Regions from separate parts of the Homo sapiens genome. Here region 1 is linked to region 2. Evidence: promoter capture Hi-C in 16 types of primary human blood cells and fetal thymus (Javierre and others, 2016). All regions are on one chromosome and are shown on one strand. Each heading gives the region's core, a stretch centred on a gene start or on the middle of the fragment in contact. The rest is flanking DNA. Distances are from core to core; before and after follow the strand shown.

What was found. Contacts are between HindIII fragments. The CHiCAGO score rates a contact against its expected background, and 5 or more counts as called.
Region 1: a contact is called between a fragment that was not itself captured here and the fragment with the promoter of UTP25 in region 2, in 1 of 17 cell types (activated CD4 T cells). The highest score is 7.5, in activated CD4 T cells.

What each region holds. Positions count from the first base shown.
Region 1 is chr1:213,007,032-213,012,796 of GRCh38, forward strand. ANGEL2 (angel homolog 2) reads right to left here. Exons shown (of 9, transcript NM_144567.5): 3 at 1,179-1,435; 4 at 98-167. Among named protein-coding and RNA genes, the nearest start is that of ANGEL2, 6.0 kb to the right of the region's middle. The HindIII fragment of the contact is 4,536 bases long and covers 1-4,165 here.
Region 2 is chr1:209,823,348-209,829,459 of GRCh38, forward strand. UTP25 (UTP25 small subunit processome component) reads left to right here and starts at 4,625. Exons shown (of 12, transcript NM_014388.7): 1 at 4,625-4,823. The coding sequence starts at 4,717. RefSeq lists an enhancer at 4,665-4,714. The HindIII fragment of the contact is 3,327 bases long and covers 3,544-6,112 here.

The DNA of each region.
Region 1 (5,765 bases), core at 648-3,147, 3.2 Mb after region 2:
TGTAGTGAGCCATGATTGTGCCACTGCACTCCAGTTGGGCGACAGAGTGAGACCCTGTCTCAAAAAAGAAAAAAAAAAAAAAAAAGTTGCATTGTACCCAGTGATTCCAAACTTGGCCTGATCTCTGCTCCATAATGATCTTCTTGAACTTCTTGCAAACAAAGTACCTTGGAAGAAAAAAATAGCTTGAATTAGAACACAGAGATGCAATCATGAATTTCCTGGTGCTTTTATCTTAAAATATCTAAAAGCAGGCTTCTAAAATTCCACACCTGATAAGAATTGAAATAAAAGACTTACCTGTTTTTCTTGTTATAGATCTACCAAATTAATGTTTCCGAATTTTGATCAATCTCAAAACTCTGGCCCTCAATCACATGGAGCTCCCTTAGTACTCAAAATTATTATTTCCAAAAGGAAATATTCTTAGCTTACATGTCAGGATATTTTTCCGGGTTTTACATGTTCATTGGTACTATCTTTCAGGTCTTAAGAGGCAGATTTCTTTGAATGCTATCAGGTAGGTGACATTTTTGCATGAATTACTGAAATTTCAAATCAAAGTTAATATTTACTGAATACTTAATATGTTGCCAGTTTCTGTCTCAAAACTGACCCATACTTAAAAACTTTTTGGACCCTCTTTGAAAAGTTAGATGATTATTCATACCAGCAACCACTAACAAATGCCTCTCTGAAAGTTATACCTTATTAAGACTTATTCCATCATTATTCTTAAACATATTCCTTTCTTACCCCACAAACAAAATGGATAAAACCATTTAGTTCATAAATGCACAAATGAAACATTTAACCCAACTTTTTCTTTCTTTCTTTTTTTTTTTTTTTGAGGCAGAGTTTTGCTCTTGTTGCCCAGGCTGGATTGCAATGGTGCAATCTCAGCTCACTGCAACATCGACCTCCCAGGTTCAAGTGATTCTCCTGCCTCAGCCTCCTGAGTAGCTGGGATTACAGGCATGAGCCACCACGCCCGGCTAATTTTGTATGTTTTAGTAGAGACGGGGTTTCTCCATGTTGGTCAGGCTGGTCTCAAACTACCGACCTCAGGTGATCCACCTGCCTCAGCCTCCCAAAGTGCTGGGATTACAAGCATGAGCCAGTGTGCCCGGCCCCAACTTTTTCTTATGTGAAGAATTTCAATAATATTTTGCACTTACGTCTGCATCAAAATGTTTAATTTCTTTCAGAATATTGGGAAACCTAAAACTCCAGTGTAATACTGGCCGCCGGCAATGTCTATAAAGGTGAGAGTTATCTTCCAGTAAATCTTGTGAAAGTATATTATAGGACATCACTGAAAAGTCAAACTTGTTCTCACTGTCTTCACATTTGGGATCAACATTTTTGTCTCCTAGGATCTTCGTTTTTTCTTTATCATGGCTACATATATATTCCCAATTCCGCTTTATCACACCTGTTAAAATATATTGCACAAATATAAGGAATTAATCAAAAGCAGACCATACAGTTTCCCACATATATGTATTTTTCAGCCTCTTAAAAATTCCCATAAGCAATGAATAGAATGTTTTTCCCTAGGAAGTGGCAATATAGCACTGAATAATTAGAACTGTTATCAAATTGGTTACAAATGCGGTAACACAATATACTGACCAACAGGTTTAAAACAGGTTTAAAAGAATCTTGCAAGTCATTCTGGAGGCTGAGAGTATGTGTTAACAAAGCTAAGACTATACAGAGGTTGTGGTTTCTCACTTCTCTACAGTTAAGAAGTGGCTCTGCCACAGATGTGATTGGCAGTTTTATAACTATAACAACAAATTTGTATGTCAAAGTTGGCTTTTCAATAAGATGATTTTACACTGTATTTTATTCCCTATTAGTGGGATAAGATCGTCAAATGATTAACCAAGTTCCAGAAGCAACCCTTAGTTCAGAATTCTAGTTTATACATGAAAGAAGTGTATATAATGGCAATATATGGAAGAAGTTTTAGTGTTTAAAACACTGAAGTGGAACATGCAAACAAAATAACAAAAGAAATCTTTTAAATGTACAACAAAGGAAAAGTTAAATATGACATAGCTACAGAATGCTAGTAAATGATGGCTAACCAACAAACCTAGCATGCAACAACCAGGCGTGTGTTCATATTCTGCAAACACATCATGCATTCTGCAAAAGTGATGAAAAGAATAAAAAAACACAAGACTTTGCAATCATAGGCAGTCCCTGACTTAGAAATAACCGTGTGTGTGATGTGTGTGTGTGTATTCACCTTTGATCTTGTCTCCTACATCCTATCATTAAAGAGCATGCTCTTACTGCCATGGAAACCATGAAGAGAAACACGGAATTTTTGGAGAATTTATGAGTTCAAAAGAGAAAACAAAAAAATGGGAAGAACATGGGAAAACAGATTTGGAAATGGACTTCTAAGTATGATTAAATTATATAAAAAATTTCAGCCCCTAGAATATCTCCCTCTATCCTGCAAAGGTTTTCACTTCACTGGAATACAATGCCTGGAATTCCACCAATCAAAAATTAAATTGAAGTTAAAATATCCTATACACTTATATAGAGGGTGAAATAAAGACTAAAAGGAAACACACCCATATTTTTAAGAGTAGTTATCTCTGAGTGTTAGGACTGTGAAATATTTTTGCAAATCTTCTGCACAATACATTTACAATCAAAATATCAATATGCTATTTAAAAATGCCAATGAAGTAATCATTTTAAAGTATGATTAGGCCAGGCACAGTGCCTCATGCCTGTAATCCCAGCACTTTGGGAGGCTGAGGCGGGTGGATCACCTGAGGTCAGGAGTTCGAGACCAGCCTGGCCAACATGGCGAAACCCTGTCTCTACTAAAAATACAAAAATTAGTCGGGTGTGGTGGCATGCACCTGTAATCCCAGCTACTCAGGAGGCTGAAGCCAGAGAATCGCTGTAACCCGGGAAGCAGAGGTTGCAGTGAGCCGAGATCGCGCCATTGCACTCCAGCCTGGGCAACAAGAGTGAGACTCCAACTCAAAAAAAAAAAAAAAAAAGATGGAAAGAAACAAAACCAAACTAAACAAAAGTCTTCAACTATGAAGAATTTTGCCTAGAGCCTATCCTATGCCCAGGAAAGGAAACTATCCTCTTCCCTATCATTCACTGAAGATAGGAATCCTACCCCCAATGGCTCAGAACTAAGGCCAATTGTACTGGCTCTGCAGAGCCATTCAGATTTATAACAAAATTTCTATAGGGAAAACAGAACTGATTGGCCGGGCGTGGTGGCTCACACCTGTAATCCCAGCACTTTGGGAGGCCAAGGCGGGTGGATCACAAGGTCAGGAGACCAAGACCATCCTGGCTAACACCGTGAAACCCCGTCTCTACTAAAAAATACAAAAATTTAGCCGGGCGTGGTGGCGGGCACCTGCAGTCCCAGCTACTCGGGAGGCTGAGACAGGAGAATGGCGTGAACCTGGGAGGTGGAGCTTGCAGTAAGCTGAGATTGCGCCATTGCACTCCAGCCTGGGCAACAGAGTGAGCCTTCGTCTCAAAAAAAAAAAAAAAAAGAACTGATCATGTGTAGAACACAATTCATTCATAAACTGGAGACTGTCTATGATGGTTTTAGCCAAATCAAAGTCTTCTTATGTATACAAGATGGAAAGGGTTCCAGTCATGCAAACAATATATAAGCTATCATCACAGATGGAGCACTACCCTGGTTTCACTGCCATATTAAAATATGAAAATTAAGGTCTAAAAACCTTATTCATATTTCCTTATAAAACATGTACATGTAATGGCATATAAATGCATTAAGATTTTTATTGTCCTGGTCATTAAAGTTTATAAACAACTCTTTTTGCAATTCCATTTTTTAAACAACCAGGACCATTAGTTTATCTGGTTACTACAGTGGCTTTCAAACTTCTACAACTTGTAGAACCCTTCTGTGTTACTTTTCATGCCATGGAACACCAATCCCTGGCATGCTGGGACTGGGGCTGGGATGATGGGGTGAACACATATTTTATACTGACCACATTTGCTTTTAATAAACTTACAGAAATGTGTTCAAATATGAGGGTTCCATGGAAGACAATTTGAAAACCACTGATAAGAGTGGATAGTCTCTGGCCTTCATATGCTTCACAACATAAATTCACACTACAAAAGCTTATATACCTTCCATATCAGGAGGAACAAGGTGATCACAGCAGAGAAGACAGATGAATCAAAGAAAGTAAGCAATAGGCCTGATCAGGTTTTTAGGGTGCCTAATTACAAAGTCATAATTGTATCACACAAATCCTTCAAATACCACTTTAAAGTGATAGGCAAGTTAGCAATGCTGTTTTCTTGATTGAAAAGTATTAGTGAAATATCGGAAGTCACAAATATGGCTTAACGAAGAGCATTTTCCTTATTCACAACACCTAGGAAGAATGGACATATAGAAAGTCAGGTTGTAATCAAGCTTTATCAGTAGGTAAATGTAATTCCCCATCCATTAAGGGAAAACAACACCATAATTTTCTGAGTACCTACTATGAAGCCAACAGTGTGTTAGGCACTTTGACATACAGTATCTCATTTCATTCAACAGACTTTCAAGTAGGCATTATTTTACACGAAAAAATCAAGGAGCAAAGAGGTTAAGTAAGCTGTCCAAGTTCATATAATTAGTGGTGGGGCAGAAAAGAAAGCAGGGAGTGGTTCCTAAATCAATGCTTATGTAGCTATGCCACAGCTCCATCTGAAAGCATCCCAGATTTCTAAGAGGCTAAACAAGAGGAGTGTGCTGACCTGATGGACAAATTTTTATGAGTGAAAAGCAATCTGGTATCATCATACTGCCCTATATTTATAGATCTTAGGATTGTTCTTAGAAACCTAATTTTAATGCCTCTAAATACACCTTTCATTCATTCAAATATTTCTTGTTTATCTCCCTATGCTGTGGTTAAGTACTATACACAAACAGATTTTCACTTTTGGACAGTTAAGAATTTCTACAAGTGTTTTTTTCTGACTAGGTCCTTTGTAACTGTGTAGCAATAAGTTACACATTTATTTGAATATTAGCTTAGCAAAGTTGATTGGGACCCAGCTGAAGCCTGTAGACTACTTTCTGATAACAAAACCAGAGGGAACCTGAAGAGCACTAATTCTAGCTTTGATTTCCAGATGAGACTCACCTTGAATGCCTTCCTTTGACAAACTTACATGTCAGCTCCCTAAACATTAACACCCACACATCCTTCTCTCAAGTTATCTTCAGAGGAATTATCTTCACTGAAAATTATGGTTCAATAAGAAAGACAATTCCAAATTCTACCTAGACACCTCACTTATACTTTCAGGAGATGGGGTTGTGATGGGGGCAAGACTGGCAGCACAGAGGGAGTCTAGTGAATTGTTCAGAGTAGAAAGAATATGAAAAAATAGAAGTAAATTAACACATTTTAAAAAACTGTTTCTCAAAGTGGAATAAGATGTGGTTCCCTTTCTTAAAGATAATACTTCGGGCAAACTCTCAAGATTTTATCTATGGACCCAATTTGAGATATACAGATGTAATAAATGAAAATCTTATCCTATAAGACCATGTCTTCCATTTATGATTGCTTCTATTTATGAGTCCTTTCGTCTTCCATAAAAATGTTAGCTTAAAAATGAAAACACTAAATTTTTTTTAGATCTGTAGACTTCTAAGCATATAGCCATCAATTTCTAAGAAGTCTAAGGGCCTTTGTTTCAAAAACATTGGATTT
Region 2 (6,112 bases), core at 3,375-5,874:
CGATAAAATATTTTCCATTTTAAGCTAAACCTAATGTAAATCAATCCCTGATACACCTGATGAAACATATTTATAAATGTTCACTATATTCCAGGTTCTGAGTTTCACAGTGGATACTTCTTATGGGTACAGATGAATGGAAAGGGCAGGGGACATATGTACTCATATTTTGTATTTTTATGTTATGTAGCGTGCATCACAAAGCTTTGCTCTTCGCAGACATAATCTCACTTCTAAAGTCTGCTCCACCTAGAAGCTTATTGCTCCACGTACAATAAATTCTGTGGAATCCGATGACTACACAGCTTCTTAATTTCCTATTGTCCTATATCCGTCATATCCTGTCTTGAACACACACACTTACTGTGGATGAGGTCAGGAAACACAACTCATACAGCCTCATATCTATAATTTCGATCAATTTTGAGTTCAATACTAGTGTTCAATGAATGTGTCTGGCTGACACATGCTCAGCCTGAGACCAGCATCCCCCCACCTGAGTAAATGTGTCCTTGCAGATTCCTTAGCATCCAGCATTGTTCAGTTCAGCATTCAGCACAGCGTATTGTAATTGTCTGTGTACTTACCTACACCCAGACAAGACTGTGAACGCCCTGAGGAGACTAGCATGATCTTATTCTTTCTCCTAGCTTTGGCTGCCAGCACCTAAGTGTTAGGTAAATATTTTTTTAAACAAGTAAGCTAATTCCATAATTTTATAAGGTAGTGAGAGAGTGATTTCTGCCAGCAGTCTCGGGAAGAGGCTGGATTGCTTTGGGTCTGTACACAGACATGCGTGTATACATGTTGTAGAAGAGCTGGTCTTGTATGTAGGAAACTGTCTACTTTAAGGCTACTAGGAAAGCACACACACACACACACACACACACACACAAAATCCTTCCCTAGAATCTTCCCAAATCAGAAGCTGAGGTGTCTGACTTTCACCATTAGAGAGTCATACCTTTGGATATACATGGCTTCCTCTCAACATATCTTGAAACTATGTGACCTTGTTATCAAAAAAAAAATAAATCTCAAACATCCCCAGCATCTGAGATGTATCCTCAAGCAGTGTTCCCCCTAGCTCTGTTGAGAATCTCAGATAGACCCTCTGCTTACTTTCTGTATTTTGCATTATAAAGTGACTGACTTGTGTCTTTAAATATTTATAGCTATATGTCAAGTAAGTACTTTCAAATTATATATATCATGATATTTACAATTAGAATATATCAATTTGTAGAACTCCATGAATTCATAATGATACTAAAAATAAAAACCAAAACTTAATTGGCCACCATTAAATCTAGTGATCAACTTCTTACCTTGAAAATTGGCAAATGAAGGGAAAGAATCAAGCATTTATTCTTTCCTATATAAACTGTACCACTGGGTAACCAAAATTTAATTAAGGTAGAAATTTGTCTTCACAACAAGAATTCAGCAACTAAGTAAAGAATAAATGACAGAATCAGAGTATCACTCCCTGAAATAGAATTATAATGTATTCATGAATTAATGAATTTAGACATTGAGCATCAATGTCTGGTAACATCACAGAAAGAAAGGCAACCAGACATCATATGCCTTCTGATGGAAGTACAAAATACCAAGTATAACAAAGTGTGATCAAACTTCTAGATCCAACAATCAATTCATAAGAAATATAGAGAAGAGCATAACATGTTAAACCAACAAAGTATTTTTAAAAGACAACATTTATGAGACAATCAAAAATGTGAACACTGGCAGTATATATGATTATATTAAACAGTTAACTTCAGTGTTTTTTAGGTTGGATAATGCCATTGAGGCTACATTAAAAAAACCCTTAACTTTTAGAAATGCACACTAAAATATTTACAGATGAAATAATATGATGTTTGGGATTTGCTTCAAAAATAATGCAGAGTAGGGACAGGGCAGTGGTTGGGCATATAAATGAGACAAGATGGCCTTGAGTTGACAGTTGCTGAAGCTGGGCAATAGGTATATGGGAGTTCATTCTCCCATTTTGTCTACTTTTGTATACACTTAAAATGTGCCATATAAAACATTTTTTTCTTTTAAATTATTAACTGATTCCGAAACATTCTGATATTCTTGTCCTAAGGGATAGCTATCCTTCTCCCACTCCTTGAGATCATTATCCTAGAGAATCTTCTGGAAATTGCAAATATCCCAAGGAAAGTAACTTGTTAATTCATTAACAGCTATCTGTAAACTAATACAGAGGGTTATTTCCTGGACTGCCTTTAACACTGAAAATATGGAGTTCCTGTGAGTAGAAGTAAAAGAAAACGTTGGGGGAGGGAAACGGAAGGGCAGAGGGAGGGAAAAAGAAGAACAAATTTTGTCTTCATTACAGTTTTCCTAAGGCCTTCATTTGTTGGCATATACATCATCGTTGTGCAGGTTTTACTAAGAGAACTTTCACGGGGGGGCGGGGCGGGGAGAAATGCTTACATTCTTGGCTCTTAGGTTAAATTTTCACAAAGGATCCCTTTTTATGTTGTCAAAGGATAATATAAATATTTTTAGGACAAAAAGGGCTTCTTTTTCCATGACCCAGTGAGCCAATGATGAGACTGCTTGGGTGGGGCTAGGGTAAATTTTTACCTGAACCTGAGAACCGTCTAGACCTGTACACAAGACCACAAGGGTGTGGAAACCGGGAGAGTAAGAGTCACCTCAAGTGCTTGAGAATATAGCTTTCATAGAAGATCTCTGGAAGAACACCAAGAAAGTGGCTGCCTCTGGGGAGGGAAACTGGGGCACTTGGGATATGTTGGGAGGGGGAAAAAGGATGGCTCTTTATTGCTATAGCCAAGTTATACTGTGGTCAGCACCTTAAAATATATGATGACATCTTGCAAACAGGCTTTTGTTGACCTAAGTGACTGTACCTTTTATCTTGAAATTACATAGAAGACAAATGGCTATTTATGGGTTCCTTGGCTGGCCCAGCTGCTGGGCACCACCCGCTCTGTTTGCATGTGTTCCTCATATTCTCCGGCCCTGTCCTCCCATCCCCACCCCAGCCTCTCCGAATCTAATTAGGAATAGTAGATGGTCACTAGAACTGACAAGAATCGCATTCTAATGGTTTTATTACAACTTCTATGGTGTGACACAGTATCAGGGAAAACCCAAATTTCCCACAGTAGCACTCCAATAGCAGAGCTATTATTTTGCTTCTCATTTCTCTCATTTTGGACGCTCCTGTTTTACCGTAAATATTCAAGTGAATTCTGCGGCTTATGATTTAAGCACTCTGTTTCTATAGAACATGGTAGCATAAGTTACTATTAGGAAAAGGATCTCACCATCTTTATCCTGTGGTCTCAAGCAGCCCTGCACACTTGCAAATCCCTAGAATACTGAGTCTACTTTTATATTTTTGCTTTTTCCTGTTTATTTAGGTGTTATTTAAATACATTAAAATTCACCCATTTTAACTGTACAGTTTAACTTTTCTTATGTATACAAGGTGTAACTACTAGCATGATCAAAATGTAAGATGGTTCCTTTACCTTCAAAAGCTTTTCCATCCCCTTTTGTCCGAGTTCAGTTATGAGACACTGGATTGGGTTTCACAGCCTTTTCTAGCATTGACTGGGGTGATTTCAGTAAAGTCACTTTACCTCTCTAGATGTGTTTCTGCTGTTGTTAAATGGGGAATGCTGGAACAGATTTGTTTGCGGGGACTCTTCCAATACTTTCAGAAAATGCGAGAATAGGGTGAGGGTGGGAATCTCAGACTTGTGGGCCCCATGATTGATATAACACACACAGGCGGCAGACCCTAATGGGTAAAAGCATGTGGTTGCATCAGTTAAGGTTTTTCTCTCTTCTCTTGCTAGCGTGTTATCTTTTCTTTTCTTTTCTTCTTTTTTTTTTTTTTCGAGATGGAGTCTAGCTTTTGTCGCCCAGGCTGGAGTAGGCTGGAGTGCAGTGGAGTGATCTCGGCTCATTGCAACCTCCACCTCCCGGGTTCCAGCGATTCTCCTGCCTCACCTCCTGAGTAGCTGGGATTACAGGCGCCCGCTACCACGCCCGGCTGATTTTTGTACTTTTAGTAGAGACGGGGTTTCACCATGTTTGGCCATGCTGGTCTCGAACTCCTGACCTCAGGTGATCCGCCCATCTCGGCCTCCCAAAGTGTTGAGATTACAGGCGTGAGCCACCGCGCCCGGCCGCTAGCGTGTTATCTTTTCTAAGCATCAGTTTCCTTATCTGCAACACCAGGCTTATTAACAAGACCTATCTGTACACTGTTGTGGTGATGAAGTGAGATGTTCAGGCACCCTTAAATGTTGGTTGATATTTTTATTGCAGTATACTGTAAAGTCACTGCATTCGACTATCTCCGCTACTACACATTTACGCAGACTGATTTCCATAACCAAAACACAAGCACAAAGCTCATGCCCCCGACTCACGCAACCCGGGAAGCCCAGCTGCCCACGTTCTAGGGCTCTGAGAACACTAGTGAACGAACTCCCGTGCTTTCAAAGAGCTGCGGTAGGGGGCAGAACCGGGAACCGGATGTTCTAAGCCTGTCGTACGAGCGCGACGTAAAGCGGATCTGCTTTATGGCACCTTGCTTTCGCCGTAAAGCGCAGTCAGCGAGCCCACGTGCTTGTGTTGACTGGACAACTTCCTGGTGGAAAACCGCGACTCTTGCAAGTGGGCAAACTTGACGTTTTCGCTATGGGCAAACGCGGGAGCCGGAGCCAGAGCCAGCTACTCAACACCCTAACTAAAAAGCAGAAGAAACATCTTCGAGATTTCGGCGAGGAGCATCCCTTCTATGACAGGTCTGAAGGGGCGTGGCAGGGCTCCCCAGTCGCCAGAGATGTATCCTCGAGTTTGGTCCTCTGGTCTCCCAGATAGTGCTGCTCCGGCCTTTTCCCACTATTCCCTGGCTCCCGCTGTGCTCGGCCGGGGAGATTCTGGCGCCATCCCGCCGGGAGATGGAGTGCTTCACGGGCCTTTTTGTTGAGCCTGTAATTTCCTGCTAAGAGGCACGCCCGTTGTGTGGGGGAGGATTTTTTTTTTTTTTTTAAGACGGTGTTTCGCTCTGTCGCCCAGGCTGGAGTGCAATGGCGCGATCTTGGCTCACTGCAACCTCTGTCTCCTCCCGGGTTCAAGCGATGCTCCTGCCTCAGCCTCCCGTGTAGCTGGGATTACAGGCGCCCGCCACCAAGCCCGGCTGATTTTTTGTATTTTTAGTAGAGATGGGGTTTCACCATGTTGGCCAGGCTGGTCTTGAACTCCTGACCTCAGGTGATCCACCCACCTCGGCCTCCCAAAGTGCTGGGATTACAGGCGTGAGCCACCGCGCCCAGCTATGGGGGCGGATTTTTGTGTGGTCAGAGATCTAGGAATTTTTTGTAGACACACATATATATATGTATATATATAATTTTTTTTTTTTAAGACAGAGTCTCGCTTTGTCGCCCAGGCTGGAGTGCAGTGGCGCGATCTCAGCTCACTGCAACCTCCGTCTCCCGGGCTTAAGCGATTCTCCTGCCTCAGCTTCCCGTGTAGCTGGGATTACAGGCGCCCGCCATCACACCCGATCAATTTTTTGTATTTTTAGTTGAGACGGGGTTTCACCATGTTAGCTAGGGTGGTCTCGAACTACTGACCTCGGGTGATCTGCCCGCCTTGGCCTCCCAAAGTGCTGGAATTACAGGCGTGAACCACCGCGCTTGGCCTGTTTTTATAATTATTTTTAACTTACATAAAATGATTGTACATATTTGTGGGATACAGTGTGATATTTTGATAACAATACATGTACCCAATGTGTAATGATCAAATCCGGGTAATTAGCATATTCATCATCTCAAACATCAATTCTTTGCGTTGGGAACATTGAAAATCCGCTCTTCTAGCCATTTGAAAATATACAATAAATTGTTAGTTATAGTCACATCATATGTTGTGTGTGTTTTTAAAGAATTTGTTGGGACATCATTGATCTTTGCAATTACGATAAGGAACTAAGTGTATTAGTAGTTGTGGTTTCTCTAGAAATGTCTAGGTGCAGTTATGATCTCAATGCTCATCCCACTACTTTGGGCTGCTTTGTCATCAGTTA